2 separate regions of the Homo sapiens genome follow, and region 2 is linked to region 1. Evidence: promoter capture Hi-C in 16 types of primary human blood cells and fetal thymus (Javierre and others, 2016). All regions are on one chromosome and are shown on one strand. The core of a region is centred on a gene start or on the middle of the fragment in contact, and the rest is flanking DNA. Distances in the headings are between cores, read along the strand shown.

Region 1 (5,574 bases), core at 810-3,309:
TCATCAACCGACTGAGGCATCTAAGGGCTAAGGTAAAACCCAACATTGAAATATTTGTATTATTAGTAGTAGTGGTAGTATATAAAATGACCCAGGTATGCAATCTTCTTGGAGTTTTTGCTCCTAACATAGTCACTTGATTTGGGATGTTTAACGACTGTGATTTTGTAATGGGACAATATAAGAGCTCATTACATTAAAACATAAATACTTGGGAAGCTCATAGTTTCTGATAGCTTGCCATCTGTTTGGTTCTTACCGGCAATGGATTTATCCTGCTTAGTGCAGATGATGATATTGTGGGTAAAATCATGGATTATACAATGGATTTCTGAGGTCTTTAACTACTGTTATTAATTTTGCCAGCTTACAAATCAACATTTTCTAATATAAAATCAATTACATTTTATTTTTCAACTCTTACCCTAAGAAAGGTTGCTATGGGCACCACAGAACATCTGTTCTGGCGCCAACAGATTGCGTTAAAGTCACCCACAGTCTCTCCAAATTAAAAACCTCAAACTGAGTTCACTGGCTTTGTTACTGTACTCTCAGCAGGATGTTCTTTTGCCTTGCCCATCGTTCAGTTTAATCCTCTAGAAAGAAAATTTTTAGAGGTACATCGGACTAAATCATTTTCTTCTGAGTACACCATTTCCAAATGGCCGCCCAGGGTCCTAAATCCGGCGGCTGCGGAGAGGGACTAGAGGGTGTCCTCCTCTGCAGAGCCGTAGGACTCGAGCGCCTTCATCACTGGACGCTGGAGCCAGGAAGGAAACCCACACACTCAGGGACAGGTATAACCCCACAGGGGTGCACCAGTGAGGCCCCGATCGCAGCGGAGGACTCCATCCCTGAGCTTGTGAGGGCGTCCTGGGGAGGAAGCGAACACTTTCCCCGTTCAAGTCAGAGAGCAGGACTCACTGGGTGGCAGGTCAGAAGTTGAATTTTAACCCGACCTGCGCTTTGTCCCCGCGCCTTCCGCAGCCTGGGCGCCGCGGTGGCACCGAGCTGGGAGAGGACACGAGAGGCTGGCGCGGGAGAAGCCGAGAGTTGCTATCGACCGGGAGCTGCCGGCGGCGGGAGCAGACGCGACCCTCGCCGCTTTCGATCTCGAAGCCGCGGAGAGCCGATCTCGGCTGCTGGGGCTCGGCTCCCCGCGCTCTGCCTTGCCCTTTCGGCAGAGGGCAGCTCCCTGCCTGCTGCAGCCCCGCCACTGTGCGCCCGGCAGCCCAGGGGTGCGCCCAGCCCGCCCCCCGAGTGGCCGCCGGGACTCCAGCAGTTGGACCGACCCTCGCCCTCCGGCGCCTGGACAAACTTCCTTCCTCCCGGGCCCCTGCGCCAAGCAAGCTGACAGGCGGCTCCCTCGCCGGTCTCCTCTGGGCTCTGGCCGGGCGAGCTTGCTCTCTGCCCCTCTCCAACCCCGAGCCCCTGGCGCCTATAGCCGTCCCCGCGCAGCGGCTCCAACAAAGCCAGAGGACCGGAGACGACCCGGCGAGGGGCTGGGAGTGGCAGCGGGGACCCCAGAGCCAGAAGGAGGCGTCCCCTCGGCGGGGCGAGTACAGTGGGAAGGGGCAGCGGGAACGTAGCGGGGAGAGAAAGGGGAAGAAAGTGTTCTGTTCTCGGCGCGAACGCCTTCCTGGCTCGTCCTCGTTCCCCTTCTCCTCCTGCCTGAGCGCGTCCCATGTCCCGTTGGGAATTGGCAGGCGGGGAAGGGAGGAGGGGAGAGGGGACGCGGTGGCCTGGCGAGCGAGCCGCTCCCTTACCTCTGTCCAGGGTGAGCGGCTGGACCACTGTCAATGTCGCCATGTCTGCCGTGGGAGCCGAAGTGACGCTCGGCTTCAGCATCAGCAACCGCTCGTAGTGAGAAAAAAAGGAGGAGATTGGGGGCGGGGGTGGAGAGGGAAGACGGAAAGGAGGGGGAGGAGGGGGAAGGAAGGAAGGTGGTGGTGGTGGAGAAGAAAGCTTGGGTGGGTTGGTAGCCAGATGGAGACGCAACTGTTCCGCGGCGGCAGATCTTCAGTTGCGGTGCGGAGCTGAGCAGGTATCCGAGAGCGACTGCATCGCCGGGCTCTGGGAGGGAAGGCTCTGCCCTAGAACTTTGCTATTCCACCCCCAGGAGCGCTGGGTGGGTGTAGCTGGCGGGTTGCTTCCTTTCAACTTTCCACTCTAATAAAATGGTCAGAATATACGTGTGTGCATGCGGGTGCGTGTGTGTATAAGGGGAAGAGAGAGGATGGAAAGGGGATATGGGGAAGGGAGTGGGAGATGAGTTTTCTCAGATTAAGAGAAATTGCCAATCCAATAATCCCATCCCCTTTAGAGAGAAAATGCTTCCATTATCAGAAATGTTTGGGATGTAATTACATTTGCAGTTAATTTCTGTTGAAGTTTTTCGGAATGTTGACCTATAACGGCATATAAAGATAACTGACTAAAGGCCAGCGTTCCATCAGTAGATGTTCATTTAGGACCTGAGTATATTGCCTGGAGAAAAAAAAAAAAAAAGGCAAACCTCTTAAAAGTGCTTCAAAATAAAAAACGTGTAGGTAAGTTTCTATCGCTAAGTTTTTCTTTTTCAAGCCACTGTTAATACATTACCAATTCAGTAAATGTAGCTTAGAAACAAGTACAGTGTTCAGATTTTCTCCGAATTTTTTACATACCACATCCTGTAAACATGCCCCACTCCCCCTCACCCACCCAGCAACAAAAACTTTGCTCTTAATGTCCAAACTGATTTTGGTTGTCTATGACTACGTTTGAAAAATATGTACCTAGCACTTTTCATGTTGATTTCTAACCAGTGGTTCAGAGATGCCACTTATCGATTGATTAACATATATGCCAGGAATTGAGATAGAAGAGTTACATTGCCTTGTGCCACGCCTTGATTTAGGAGTTCAATTTAGTCTCCGACTTCCTGTAGCCTGTAATCTAGTGGGAGATGGTGTTATTAAAAACCTGACTTTAGAGTCAGTTGATCAGGATTAAATTACGAGAGCCTTCAAATACTGGCTGTGACCTCTTCGCCCCAATAAAAAGGCTACTTTCACTATCTTGTCATAGTAGGGATTCATTTCCTGACTACGAAATCAAGAAACATAAAGAAACCTTCTATAAGCTGAATAGGGGTGACTGTGGGTGCAGGATTGGAAATGACAAAGCTGCCTCCATCTTGTTTCCTGTGACAGAGCTGAATTGTTTGGGCTAACAATAAACTCTAAAAGGCAGATACTGTTTTATAGCAAAATATTTGCATATAATTGATGCCATTTTCTTCTGATTACAGATAGGATTTCTGAAGGTCTTTTTCATTTTATAGTCTACAATTGAATTTTAAAAAACAACATTTCACCAATGTGGGAAAGCCAAAGATGATTGGCCATATATAGACTTAACAGACCCTAAGAACAAACCTAAAATAGTAGTTCGATATGTTTATTTTTATTTAGTATTTAAGAAAGAATGCTGATCTTGACATTTGAGTCTTAGTCATGTACTCTTCGGAAGTCACACAATCTCTCACTGATCCTGTTTCCTCCTCTGTCATACAATGGAAATAATATCATTCAATGTCACAGAGATCTGTCATATGAGGAAACTAATTCTACCTTGCAATCTCACAGAGTTTTATGAGGGTCTAATGGAGTCATACATGTGACTGTGCTTTGAAAACAGTAAAGAATATACAAATTTATTTATACAAGCATACATCCCCTGGAACCGTGTGGTAAGCTCTGTGCTAGGTGCTAACCATGCAAAGATTAATGAGATGGCCCCCTTTCTGCCCAGTCTTGCTTGGGAGACAGTGAGCAAACCATAAGCTTCTGTGCAGTACTCTAAGCACTATTAAAAGGAAGTGCCCTCGGTGGCCAGAGGTTGCAAAAACAACTTTGGTTTTTTACCGTTATTCACATGCCCTGAATTAAGCAACAGAAAGAAGTTGAGATGAGCGCAATGATACCAGAGTGTGTTACAAGCTTTTGCACAAAGTTATTAAACCTCACTCGGTAACTGAGGATAAAAGAACATACAAATCCCTTGACTTCTAATGTAGTTATTTTACAACATCCTTTATTAGGGAATATGTATTTAAGCAGCTTGATTCATCAGCCCAAAAGTCATAAATTGTACCCATTCCAACACAAATCCCTGATTGTGGTGTCAGTGAAGGTAGAGTTTTCTTTGTCTTTTTGTTTCCTAATGCATCCTCAGGACTAAACATTTCATAGCATATTTCTGGACTTCTGCCTTGAGCTTCCTATTTGAAATTTGCTCTGTCATTCTTTCTCTGTGTTGACTCTGTAGGGTTGTTGTTGTTTTTAAATCAAGATTAAAAGAGAAATTAAAAGGAAGCATAAATCACCATAAATTCATCTGTTATTATTTTTAGTAGTGGAAAGTTCATTCCCTTTAGCTTATGTCTACACAGGTGTAGAAAATTAATAAAAATTCATTATCCATTAGAATTTGTTTTTATGAATAAATACTATCTCTCCAATAATATTTGTGAATTTCGTTTTGAGACATGCAGGGATATACTTGATCTAGTCACATGCCAGTTGCTTTGCTGTGTATTTACCTGAGAATTGTTAAAATATTTGTAATTATGCTTTTATCTTAGCTATTTGGTTACAAAATCACTACACTCTTTCATTAAATGATATGTAGAAATTTAGTTTAATGGTAACTATATTTTCATGGAGTTAACTAATTCAATAAATACTTATTGAGCACTTATATGTGCCAGACTTGGTGCTAAGTTGGTCTCTCTTTCCCTTTCTTTCCAGCCCAGAGAAGTAGGTATTTTTATGCCGTTTTGAAGATAAGTAAACTGAAGCTCACAGAGGTTACACAACTTGCTTAAGAATAGTAGCACCTGGCTTCACAATCTCCTGTGCTTTCCACTAAGAAACATCACACTTTGTTCTTTTTTTTTTTTTTTTTTTTTTTTTGAGATGGAGTCTCACTCTGTCGCACAGGCTGCAGTGCAGTGGCGCGATTTCTGCTCACTGCAACCTTCGCCCGCGGGGTTCAAGCGATTCTCCTGACTCAGCCTCCCAAATAGTTGGGCCTACAGGCGCCCGCCACCATGCCTAGCTAATTTTTGTGTTTTTTATGGAGGCGGGGCTTCACCATTATGGTCAGGCTGGCCTCGAACTCCTGACCTCAAGTGATCCGTCTCCTCAGCCTCCCAAAGTGCTGGGATTACAGGCATGAACCACCACGCTGGGCCTCATCACACTTTATTCTATGTTGTTGAAGATTTAGTGATTTCAGCCTTTTATTTCAGAATTCCAGATAAGTATATATATGGTTATAAAATCTTTTAAGAGATATATAAATATATATCTATTAAGATATATATTTTTAAGAGATATAAATATATATTATAAATATATTTTAATATAATATTAATGTATTTAATACATGTGAAATATATTTAATACATATATATGATATATTATATGTATATATACACACACACATGTCTTTTCTCTCTCTCTTTTATTTTGTGTGTGTGTTGGCTTGAGACATAGAGAGAGGAATGGATGAAGGGAAGTTAGGTCA
Region 2 (5,427 bases), core at 1,854-4,353, 1.4 Mb after region 1:
CTCCACATGGAAGGAAACAATAGGGAACCGATAGGAACTATTACCTCCATCAATAATAATATATTCTAACTACTTATTAGATATTTAAATAATACCAAGCTTGCTTCCCTTTGTAACTTTCCTCATGCTCTTACACTTCTAATCTTTTTAACCTCGAAGGCTTTCCTTAAATGCTATTGCACACATGAAACTTTCTCTGATTTCTTAAACCAAACAAAACCTCTTTCTTCTCTGAGGCCCTGGTCCAACATTTTTTAAGTGTGGCGAGGAGCAACCCAGCAGAATCACTGGGGTTGCCTGTTAAAACATCCATTACTAAGCCCATCTACAGTATCCAAATTCCTTAGTGTAGGGTCCTCAAACATGCCTCTTAAGAAGCCTATAGGCCAGGCACAGTGGCTCACACCTATAATCTCAGCACTTTGTACGGCCAAGGTTGAGCCATAAGGATCCCTGAGGCCAGTTCAAAACCAGCCCAGGCAAGGCTGAACTTGGCAAGACCTCATCTCTACAGAAAATGTTAGCCAGGTGTTGGCACGTACATGTAGTCCCAGCTACTCGTGAGGCTGAGCAGGATAACTTGAGCCCAGGAGTTTGAGGCTGCTGTGAGCCATGATCACACCACTGCACTGCAGCGTGGGCGGGAGACTGTCCACCACCAAGATAATAAAAAAAAAAAAAACGAAAAAGGAAAAGCTTCCTGGGTGCTTCATTGATAACACTAAAATCTTAACCTTTTGCTTTATCTGATTGTCACTGATTACTTTTTCCCCCATTATACCATTACTTGGCATTTATTCCTCTACAAGAACTTTGGAATTTTAAAGAGTAACTCCTTAATATAAGTTTTGCATAAAGTAGCTTTTAACAAAGTCGTTAAAATGAATATAATTTGACTTTCACTTGTCTCTCAAAAGGACTAGATCTCCTTCCATGTTTTGTCATGATTAAGTGTCTAGAAGTGAAAATGCACAAAAATTGTAAAGCAATTTACTGAAATAATTTATCCTCCATCATGATGTGATGTGTCTTCACCAATGTAGCCAAATTTAGGCTTTCTGGGCTGCTTACTTTAAATGCAATATAGTGCAATGCAAATTTCTAAAGCATTGCTTTTCTATGCAATGAAGATTAAGTTCAGTGTTATCTAAGCACTTTCTACTGATCTTGAAATGCAGAATAAATTAGTAGACTGAAAGAGCTCCCTAAAATCTTAATGCAATTTCAGACTGTATTTGCTATCATTTATAAAATTTTATTATTCAATATTTGGCAAGTATTATTGGTCAGCCCTTTTTGCTTACAATGACTATATATATATTTCAAGCCTTTCTCATTCTTCTGCAATTTGCAAAGCATGAGAAGCAGTTATCCCAGTGGCTTATCTCAGCTCACAAGGGTACCAACAAGGGAGACAGAGATAATGTTCTTAAAGTATAGGGTCCATAGGAACTGGAAAGCTTAATTCTTGCTGTGACACTGTGGGGTTTCCATCATTATTTAAAAGACCTTAGACTAACAAGCCATGTACATCCATTTAAGGGAATGTTTATAAATATCAGACTTTGAGTTCACTGCTTTGTGAAGGTCGCTTTGTTATATGGTGAGGGCAGTTTATTTCAGCACCCATCACCCTGTAACATGTACTTAAAATAAATAAAAAGTCCAAGAGGAGTCTTTGCCTCCCTCATCATTAAAATAAATTTTAAAACAACGTAACTGTTTACTAAATTGAAATATTTCATTGAAATGCTTCATTGATAGCTCTGATTCCTTATTTTTAAAAAATTTATTTCATATAAATCTCATATGGTACAAAAGTATTACATGCTTGGGCCTGTCTTGCAAAATAAGAGGTTCTTTCAGTTCTTCAGGCCAACCTTCCTTCAGAGGCAAATAAATAAGAAACATGTAGAACATATTTAGAAAATTTTTTACCATAATAAAAATATGTGAACATCTTATATTTAGCATAGTTTAGCAATCCAGTTTATGTCGACAAATTTAGTTCACTGCTGGGAGGCACATGTCACAGAAGAACCTAATAGGCAGCAGATATTTTAACCTGTAGGAACAAAATGTTTAACATTTTTCTTGTATTTTTTGAAGAAGGTACTCCATTTGTACATTCAAGTTTGGTTGGCCCTTTTTAGTCTTTTTGTTCAGTATTTTAAACACTTCCATTTTCTTCTTTTTGTACTGCCTTTGGGCTTCTTCTCTCTCCTGTTTTCTCCTCTCGAATTCCTAAAATTATTAACATATGTAACTTTCATTAGCAACAAACAGTAGATACAGTTCAGAAATTGTCTTGAAATAGCTATTACTAAGCAAACACTCTAAGGTTTGTCTCTTCTATTTTGCAAGATGTGCACTGTTTCTCCTAATTGAAGCAAAGTACCCTCTTTGCCTTCATATTATAATGACCCATGGTATAACAGAGAATTTTCATGATCACAAAGCCCCAGCTCTATATAAACAAAATTTTAAAAGGACATTAAATGTTTTACAGCATAATGGTCATTACTGCACTTCATCTGATATACTGTTTCCAAAGGTGACAGATGGTTGGAAAAAGCATAAAGCTGTGCTAGTTAATACTGGTCCAGTATTCCCATGAAGAAATTTTCCTGCTTTCTCCTAATCTGCCACCAGCTTAAGAACAATGAAAACATTTTTGATGTTAAGAATTCTTAATTACAGATATTCTAAAGCAAAAACAAGCAAAATTACATATCTTTAGGGTATTTTTAACTGACACATTATACTTTTTAAAGCTACAGATCAATAAAACTTCAATGGAAAAACAAGAACTACCACAGTTACAACAAAATGACAATTTTGTTGAGGCTGTGGGTAATTCTGTATTCATTTGAAAAAAGCCTAATTCTGGTCTACAATTCTGGTTTTCTAAATAATAGAGTGCTAACTTTTGCTAAGCTAAAATAATAGTTGTTTTTTTTTTTTAAACAGGCAAGAACACCTCTTTATAGTAAAAAAGTATTTTATTCTAACACCTCCCCTTTGCTTTTACTTTCTTCAATGTAATGTTATGAAAATCATCTATATTTTTCTTAGGTCAGTGGTTCTCAAGTTTTATCATACATAAAAATCTTTTGAGGTGCTTGTTAACAAGTGCAAGTTCCTGGACCAAACTCAGTGAAACTTTGTCCCAGATGTTCACAATATTGACCTATAAACAATGTGTTCAAAATCCTATTTTTGACCTACTAGTATTGCTTGACATAATACAAGCAAGGACTTGGAATAAGATGCAATCCTCTACCTTTGCTCAGACTACTCATTCATTCAACAAATATTTACAGAGAGAATACTGTGTGCCCAGCACCAAGAAGCACAACAGGTATAGTATATATATTTAGGATAAATAAGAAAAACTATACTAAATATTTTCAAAGTAGAACTTACTTGTTTCTTAGCAGCACGTTTGGCTTGTATCTGTTCATATTCTTCTTGTGCTTTTTGATTTGATGTTTTCTTTTTATTTTTCTTTGGAATTGTAAAGGAGCTTTTAATTGGGGGATGAGGAAACAGGACTTTATTAGTAAAATGTCCAAAAAGGTATTAAAAACACAGTTGTAGCTTTTAAGAGTATATATTAAATAAAAGGCACAAATGGGGATTCTTAGAGAAATATTTCAACTAGGAAAAAATATAGAAAGCTATGAAAAATCCTAAAATGTTAAAAAAAAAAACTTTTAAAAGTAATGAAACCAGTATATGAATGATAGAAATGCCAGACTGAAAAAAGAATTAAACTTGTTGTTTAAGGATGTTAAGAAAATTATGTGTATATATGAACTTTAATCTCGAAGTTTTCTGAGCCCCTCCTCTCTATTCCATTTTACCTACCTAGTCATGAATCACCATACCTTGGATCTAGATACCATTTTGAACTGTTCTATCTTTAACTACTTCTCACCTCTCTGAAGATGTCCTTTTTGTCAAGGCTAATCCAACTACTTGGAATTCCATTCATTTCCTCAGCATCCTTGATTCAGTAATAACTTTACTTTCCTCTATCATTCAACTTTTCACTATACTCTGTAACTACAATATAATATTTTAATAGCTACTAATCACTAGCGACTTTGGACTAGTGACTAGTGACTGCCTAGTCCACAAATCCAGAGACCTGTCCTCAGTCCTATTCACCTTCAACTTTATAGTACAGTAGCACACCCCTTATCCATGGTTTCCCTGTTCCACGGTTTCAGTTACCTGCAGTCAACAGAGGTCCAAAAATATTAAATTGAAAAATTCCAGAAATAAACAATTCATATGTTTTAAATTGTACACCACACTGAGTGTTTGCTTTAAGTGAAAAGGTAAAAGTTCTTGACTTAATAAGGAAGGAAAAAAAATCGTATGTTGAAGTTGCTAAGATCTATGGTTTTAAAAAAAATCTTCTATACATCAAATTGTGAAGGAAAAATAAATTCATGCTAGTTTTGCTGTCATACTTCAAACTGCAAAAGTTATGGCCACAGTACGTGATTTAAGATGGAAAAGGCATTAAATTCCCAAGTAAAAGACATTAACAGAAATACATTCCAATTGACAGAAACTGGGTTTGGTACCATTTGCAGTTTCAGGGCATCCACTGGGGGTCTTGGAACATCTTCCAAACAGATAACGGGGGACCACAATATTTGATAGCTGACTAATCCCTCACAACTTTTCTCTGTGGACTGAGCTGTCACTGTATTTCTCTTTCTCCAGTCCTGAAAAGCTTAACTTCCTCAATGACAATATTTTCCCTGTTTCCACCCCAAAATAAACCGTAATCTTTAAAAGCATGATTTTTTACCTTCCTTTCTCATGATTTAAACTTCCTTACTTCAATTATCAGAGAATAACTCAAATCTACATTTCTACTGCTAATCTTTTCCCTGAACTTTATACTGATTATTTAACAATATAATGATCAAGCCTACCAAAAGTAGTAAACTTTTTGTGTCTCTGCCTTCATCCCCAATTACATTTTTACCCCCCGTGGTCCCATTTCCTGTTATTTTTAGCGCAAATAGCTCACGACTTTAAAAGATACGGTTTTAATGAAGTAAAAAATTATGCTCCCAAGTTAATACCCAGCTTCTTGCAATTTTAGATTTTAGCATTGTTTTTTAACTTTAAGTATGCAGCGATAGTTTTTTATAAGTTAACTCTTATAAAACCAAAGCGTCACGGAGCTGTGCATTTGCAATTGCAACCCATTTCTGGTCCTCTGCAGAAAATCCAGATTAATAGTAGTAGCTAACGCTCAAGAGCACTAACCACGTACCATATATACCCTTTAAGATCCTCATATACATTAACTCGCTGAGTCTTCACAACAATGTCATGAAACACCTTAGGAACACCTGAGTTTATGTGAGTAATCCATTCTGGAGCTGTGCAACATGGCAG

Evidence for each region. The method cuts DNA at HindIII sites, captures the fragments that hold promoters and counts their contacts. A CHiCAGO score of 5 or more calls a contact.
Region 2: a contact is called between a fragment that was not itself captured here and the fragment with the promoter of LIN7A in region 1, in 1 of 17 cell types (neutrophils). The highest score is 5.5, in neutrophils.

What each region holds. Positions count from the first base shown.
Region 1 is chr12:80,935,875-80,941,448 of GRCh38, forward strand. LIN7A (lin-7 cell polarity scaffold A) reads right to left here and starts at 2,060. Exons shown (of 6, transcript NM_004664.4): 1 at 1,767-2,060. The coding sequence starts at 1,848. RefSeq lists a silencer at 1,188-1,397. The HindIII fragment of the contact is 1,862 bases long and covers 1,964-3,825 here.
Region 2 is chr12:82,351,069-82,356,495 of GRCh38, forward strand. CCDC59 (coiled-coil domain containing 59) reads right to left here. Exons shown (of 4, transcript NM_014167.5): 3 at 3,427-3,526; 4 at 1,235-2,244. The coding sequence ends at 2,083. Among named protein-coding and RNA genes, the nearest start is that of CCDC59, 4.6 kb to the right of the region's middle. The HindIII fragment of the contact is 3,290 bases long and covers 1,459-4,748 here.